Regions from separate parts of the Homo sapiens genome. Here region 1 is linked to region 2. The links are contacts of gene promoters, found by promoter capture Hi-C in human tissues and cell types (Jung and others, 2019). All regions are on one chromosome and are shown on one strand. Each heading gives the region's core, a stretch centred on a gene start or on the middle of the fragment in contact. The rest is flanking DNA. Distances are from core to core; before and after follow the strand shown. Region 1 has its middle 11 kb from the start of OR1L6. Region 2 holds the start of OR1K1 (olfactory receptor family 1 subfamily K member 1).

Evidence for each region. Contacts are between HindIII fragments. The study calls those that stand out against the background at their distance.
Region 1: a fragment that was not itself captured here is called in contact with the fragment with the promoter of OR1K1 in region 2 in 4 of the 25 tissues and cell types used here (bladder, mesenchymal stem cells, mesendoderm cells and 1 more).

The regions. Positions count from the first base shown.
Region 1 is chr9:122,751,442-122,754,733 of GRCh38, reverse strand. No RefSeq gene overlaps it. Among named protein-coding and RNA genes, the nearest start is that of OR1L6, 11 kb to the right of the region's middle. The HindIII fragment of the contact is 4,183 bases long and covers 1-3,292 here.
Region 2 is chr9:122,798,731-122,801,826 of GRCh38, reverse strand. It overlaps OR1K1 (olfactory receptor family 1 subfamily K member 1), which reads right to left and starts at 1,704. Exons shown (of 1, transcript NM_080859.1): 1 at 754-1,704. The coding sequence starts at 1,704. The coding sequence ends at 754. The HindIII fragment of the contact is 19,122 bases long and covers 1-3,096 here.

The DNA of each region.
Region 1 (3,292 bases), core at 265-2,764, 47 kb after region 2:
TCAATGCCAGAAATACTCTGCCCTCTTCCCTACTTTTTTCTTGGGTCTCATGCTACACACTCTTCCTAATTGTCATCACTTACTCTGATAAACAGGTAAAATATGTTCAGTGAACTGAATTCCCCTTATTTCAGTATTGAGCTAAATCTCAAATATTTGTATATATGTAATAAGCTTACATTGGAAAAACCCAATACATTTTTTTAAACTTTTTGTGTTTTGTCAACAAATGAGAGACCTATGGTATTATTTCTCTATTGTATTCAGCCAGCCTTCTGGATACCAATATGGTGAAACAAGGAGCTGGCAAGGAGATTCCTTGTCTACTCTCAAGGACTATGTAGCAGCATTTGAGACAATGTGACAAGATGTCCAGAGGCCTGTTGAAATCCCTCCCTGTGATTATATCTACCTTCATAATCTATTTATTTCCTCTTACTCATGCTTATTAGTGACTTTCTAGGTTGACTTCTGGACTCTCTTGATTGGACAGCAAAAATCTTACTACACTTTGTAGATACTCCTTGCTCATGGCAGTTCTTTCCTTCTGAAGAGTGACAGGATGTCTTGTGGGAAGTAGCTTCATATTTTGACAGAGAAAACACTCCAGCTCTGACTGAGAAGTTTAGGACTTACCTGAGGGTCAGAGTAGGAACTCTTTCATCCCAAAGTGCACTCTCGTGGTTAATTGTTATCTAGAATTTCCTTTTCTTTACACTTTTGGTAATATCTCTAGGATTATTCATAAAACATCTTTTATGATTTTTTTTTGCCATGCATTTGTTGAGAAAAAGAAGTCTGGGGCTGATGGCAATGTGAGATCAGAAATATCCATCTGACAAAGGTCAAATATCCAGAATCTACAAGGAACTTAAAAAATTTACAAGAAAAAAATAAACAACCCCATTAAAAAGTGGGCAAAAGACATAAACAGACACTTCTCAAAAGAAGACATTTACGCGGCCAACAAACATGAAAGAAAGCTCAACATCACGGTCATTAGAGAAATGCAAATCATAACCACCATGAGATACCATCTCATGACAGTCAGAATGGTGATTATTAAAAAGTCAAGAAACAACAGATGCTGGTGAGACTGGAGAAATAGGAACACTTTTATACTGTTGGTGGGAATGTAAATTAGTTCAACTATTGTGGAAGATAGTGTGCCAATTCCTCAAAGACCTAGAACCACAAATACCATTCAACCCAGCAGTGCCATTACTGGATATATACCCAAAGGAATATAAATTATTCTATTATAAAGATACATGCACACGTATGTTCATTGCAGCACTATTCACAATAGCAAAGACATGGTATCAACCCAAATGTCCATCAATGATACACTGCATAAAGAAAATGTGGTACATATACACCATGGAATACTATGAAGTTATAAAAAGGAACAAGATCATGTCCTTTGCAGGGACATGGATGGAGCTGGAATCTATTATCCTCAGCAAACTAACACAAGAACAGAAAACTGAACTCTGCATATTCTCACTTACAAGTGGGAGCTGAACAACGAGAAAACATGGACAGAGGGAGGGGAACAACCCACACTGCGGTCTGGGTGGGAGTGGGGAGGGAGAGCATCAGGATAAATAGCTAATGCATATGGGGCTTAATACCTAGGTGATGGGTTGATAGGTGCAGGAAACCACCATAGCACACGTTTACCCATGTAACAAACCTACACGTCCTGCACATGTATCCTGGAATTTAAAATAAGTTAAAAAAAAAAAAGTAAGTTAGTGTTCTCAGGACTAAAGAACTTAATTGGATTTATAAGTTAATGGTGGCATAATTAATGAATTTGTTTATTTAATGTATATGTAATATACATATAATTTATGAATAGATTTATTTAATATAGATATTCCTAACATTCTGAAGTAGCTAATTGAACTTGGTTGAGCATGAGAAAACTATGGCACATAAATTGAGTAAGTGGAAATGGTACATATCTTCTAGGCCAGCATCCCACAAACCAAATGATCAGTGAGAGATAGTGGTGAAAACCAGGTGTGCCTGTACAAACACGAAGGTTATTGCTTTGGGTTTCTTTCCTGGCTTTCTGGTTACTCCCTTATAATTAGGAGCACGTAGTGAAAGCACTAGCAGGGACCTTGATGTCGGAACCTAGGTGTCCCTGTATTTCCTTGGACACCATTCACCTCTTACTAAATCTTTAAGGCCAAAAAACTTGTATTCAGCGTCAGGTCCTGCCACACAAGCTTGTGACCTAGAAAAGCTGATGGTTGTGGGAACTTGATGAAATAATTGAAGCAGAAAAATCCCAGACAGTGTGTAAGTGTTACATTACTATTGTTATTGACAATAACACAATCCAGGAGAACTGATGAAGCAACTAATTCACACTGATGTGTTTGTATGTTAATATAGTTGGGTAGTAGTAATGAATGCGGTTTATCAAATACTTCTGGCTTTCTAAAATCTTAGAGGGACATAGTTGGATTGTGCCTCCTGGCTGCCTTGCGTTTGGGTGGGGTCATGAGAGGTGTTTTAGACAATAAGTTATGGTCATAAGAGGTGAGGGTCACTTCTGGGCCAGAGTTTTTAACTGCCAGTGTGAAACCTCCAAGAGCCTTTCTCAGCTTCTGGCAGAGTGATGATTAATGTTTTCAGTGGTGACTGCTCCACGATCTTGGGTCTCTGCATGTTGAAAATAAGTAGCACACTTACACTTTTCTATGGTGGACCTACAATGTGAATGAGAAATAAACCTTTGGTTTTAAGGTCCTAAGACTTTGAGGTTGATTGTTTCCATAGCACAACCGAGCTTTTTCCTAACTGATACATTAGCTTTTTCTAGGATACAAAATGCAGCTTGGTGAGGATGCTGGATGTATGAAGGGAAGAATTAAGAGGGAAGGGAAAAGAAATCGGGTACTGAGCCTTCACACTGTCATGAAACTTAAGTGTTGGTGGGGGGGAGAATAAATGCATTTTGTAGATTCTTCTATCTTTCCAGCCGTATTCTCCTTTCTCTCAAACTGATGAAGCCTCAGCTTTTCATTGTCCCTCAAACACATTGCAGTGCTTATTGTCTCCACATGCTTGGGTGGTTTTCACTATTTGAAATGCTTTGCCCATTTCTTCATCTTTTGAAACTTCCTCTTTCAAAATTCAGTCCATCCTTCAAGATGCCATTCCTTCAAGAAGTCTTACCCAATGACCTATCAAACCCATGTAGTTTCTTCTTCTTAAAACTAATGAGTTTTATAAGTCGTGGTGGCTCACCCCTGTAATCCCAGCACTTTGGGAG
Region 2 (3,096 bases), core at 455-2,954:
GTCAATTTATTTGAGAACACATGGCCATATGACTGAAGAGAAAGTGCTCATCCACACAAGGCATGTTCTGCGGATGTCACACCCTCCTGGATTGCCCTCGGTCTGTAGGAAATGGTGGAATGCATTCTAAATGCCTAAGAGTGATCATCAGAAGAGCATGATGTGGCAGAAGGGGTGCAGGTTTTGCTTTCTAAGAACTGTGTGAATTTGAGAAAGTCACTTCTTTTTTTTTTGAGATGGAGTCTTGCTCTGTTGCCCAGGCTGGAGCTCAGTGGCACAATCTTAGCTCACTTCAATCTTCATCTTTTGGGTTCAAGTGATTCTCTTGCCTCAGTCTCCCGAGTAGATGGGATTACAGTTGTGCGCCGCCATGCTTGGCTAATTTTGGTATTTGTAATAGAGACAGGGTTTCGCCATGTTGGCCAGGCTGATCTTGAACTCTCGACCTCAGGTGATCCACCACCTCGGCTTCTCAAAGTGCTGGGATTACAGGCGTGAGCCGCTGTGCCTGGCTGGAAAGTCACTTCTTATCTTTGAGCCTAAAGACAAATTTTCTTGTGTGTAAAACCGGATCATAATATCTGCATCCTGGGTGGCTGTGGGAATAAAATGAGATCAGGCAAGGATCTGCTTCCGGGCAGGTGCTCAGGAAATGACAGCTGTTATGATTTTTGAGCATAGCAGAGGACAGAGGGTCACGTTCAACAGTTGCCAGTGTGGGTGATGCAGTCTGTCCTCAGTGGGGTCCTGCCCTCAGGAGTCACTAGCTGAGATCCTTCGCCCAATGAGAAGGGCTCGGAGTGCCCCCTGTACATCGCGATTCCAGAGGCTGTAGATGATGGGGTTCAGCATGGGGGTGACTACAGTGTACATGACAGTGGCCACACGGCCCCACTCTGCCTCGCGTCGGGATGTGGCCTGGAAGTAGACTGCAATGACTGTCCCATAGAAGAGGCTCACCACAGCCAGGTGGGAGCCACAGGTGGACACAGCCCGGAGCCTCCCAGAGGCTGAGGGCAGCTGGAGCACGGCAGCTGCGATGGCCCCATAGGAGGCGAGGATGAGCAGGAAGGGAGTGACCACCACTGCGGCGCCCTCGGTGAAGATGAGCAGCTGGATGTGGTGGGTGTCAGAGCACGAGAGCCTTAAGAGAGGCTGGTGGTCACAGAAGAAGTGGGGCACTTGGTGGGAAGCACAGAAGGACAAGCGAGCCATGAGCAGGATATACAGGAGGGAGTGGACGTGGGACACCAGCCATGCCATTCCCACCAGGGCTGCGCACATGGCCCGGGACATCCTCGTGGCATAGGGGAGGGGGTGCCGGATGGCCACGTAGCAGTCATAGGCCATGGCCGCCAGAAGACAGCTATCAGTTACCCCCAGGGCAAAGAAGAAGTACATTTGGGTCAGGCAGCCAGCCAGCGAGATGGAGTGGTCATGGGCCAACAAGTTGGCCAACATCTTGGGCACAGTGACGGAGGCGAAGCAGAGGTCAGCAAAGGACAGGTGGGCCAGCAGGAAGTACATGGGTGCATGAAGGGCTGGACTGGCCTGGATGGCAGCCACAATGAGTCCATTACCCAGGAGGCTGGCCACATACAAGAGCAAGAACAGCACAAAGAGAGGCCGCTGCTGTCCAGGACTTGTTGTCAGTCCCAATAAAACGAATGAGATTCCCTCTGAAGACTCATTGGCAGCCTCCATGGCAGGCTGGTTATTCGCCTGGAACCTGAAGGGCTCCTTTCTATTGATGGGTCACCTCCCCGATGTCTAACGGAAAAGGTGAGGGGATAAATTGTTCAAGGCTTCCTGGCCATGGGAAAATATCAAGAGTTTAGAGTCAGGTAGCCCTGGCCCTAGGCACAGGTATGACTATGGGCAAGTCATTTCACCTCCCTGAACCTTCTTCCTTTCTGGGCCTTAGATTTTCTTTTCTTTTTTTTTTTTTTTTTTTGAGATGGAGTCTTGCTCTGTCGCCCAGGCTGGAGTGCAGTGGCACGATCTCAGCTCACTGCAAGCTCCACCTCCTGGGTTCACGCCATTCTCCTGCCTCAGCCTCCCGAGTAGCTGGGACTACAGGCGCCCGCCATCACGCCCGGCTAATTTTTTTTGTATTTTTTAGTAGAGACGGGGTTTCACCGTGTTAGCCAGGATGTTCTCGATCTCCTGACCTTGTGGGGCCTTAGACTTTCAACCTGCGAAATAAGAGAATTGAAGTAACTCATCTGCAAGGTCACGTCCAACTTTGATAGTTTGTGATTTAAGCAAAAATAGAACAAAAGATATTGCACAAGATGTAGATCAGGGAAGGAGGAAAATATGAAAGAAAAGATGAAACAGAGTGAGGTTCGACACAGAAAGATCTGGCCAATGGACATTTATTTTGGAAAAGAAAAAATGAAACCAAACCAAGATGGAGGAGAGAAACATAAGAAAGAAACTCTAGAAAAAAAATCTGAAGAGCACATATGTTTACATTGAAATGAATATGAACTCACAACACCTAGACACAAATAGTGGAATTTTAGAACACTGGAAATGAAGAGGAGACTCCAGTACTTCCTAAGGGCATGGGGTGCAATGAACTGATGATATCCATGTAATTAGATTGCCATCAAATGTTTCAATTCAACAGTAGATTATAGAACAGTTTAACAATATTCAAATTCTGAAAAAAAGCATTTCGAACTTGGAATTCTTCACTCAGCAAAAATACTACTCAAGTGTGAGTAAAGAATACAGATATTTTCAGACTTAAAACACAAAACAAGGCCGGGTGCAGTGGCTCGTGCCTGTAATCCCAGCACTTTGGGAGGCCAAGGTAGGAGGATCACCTGAGGTCAGGAGTTTGAGACCAGCCTGGCCAATGTGGTGAAACCCCATCTCTACTAAAAAAAAAAATACAAAAATTAGCCAGGTGTGGTGTCACGTGCCTGTAATCCCAGCTACTTGGGAGGCTGGGGCAGGAGAATATCTTGAACCCAGGAGGCAGAGGTTGCAGTGAGCCAAGATCGTGCCACTGCACTCCAGCCTGGGTGGCACAGTGAGACTCCATCTCACACACACACAAAAAAAGAACAAGAGAATCTGAATGAC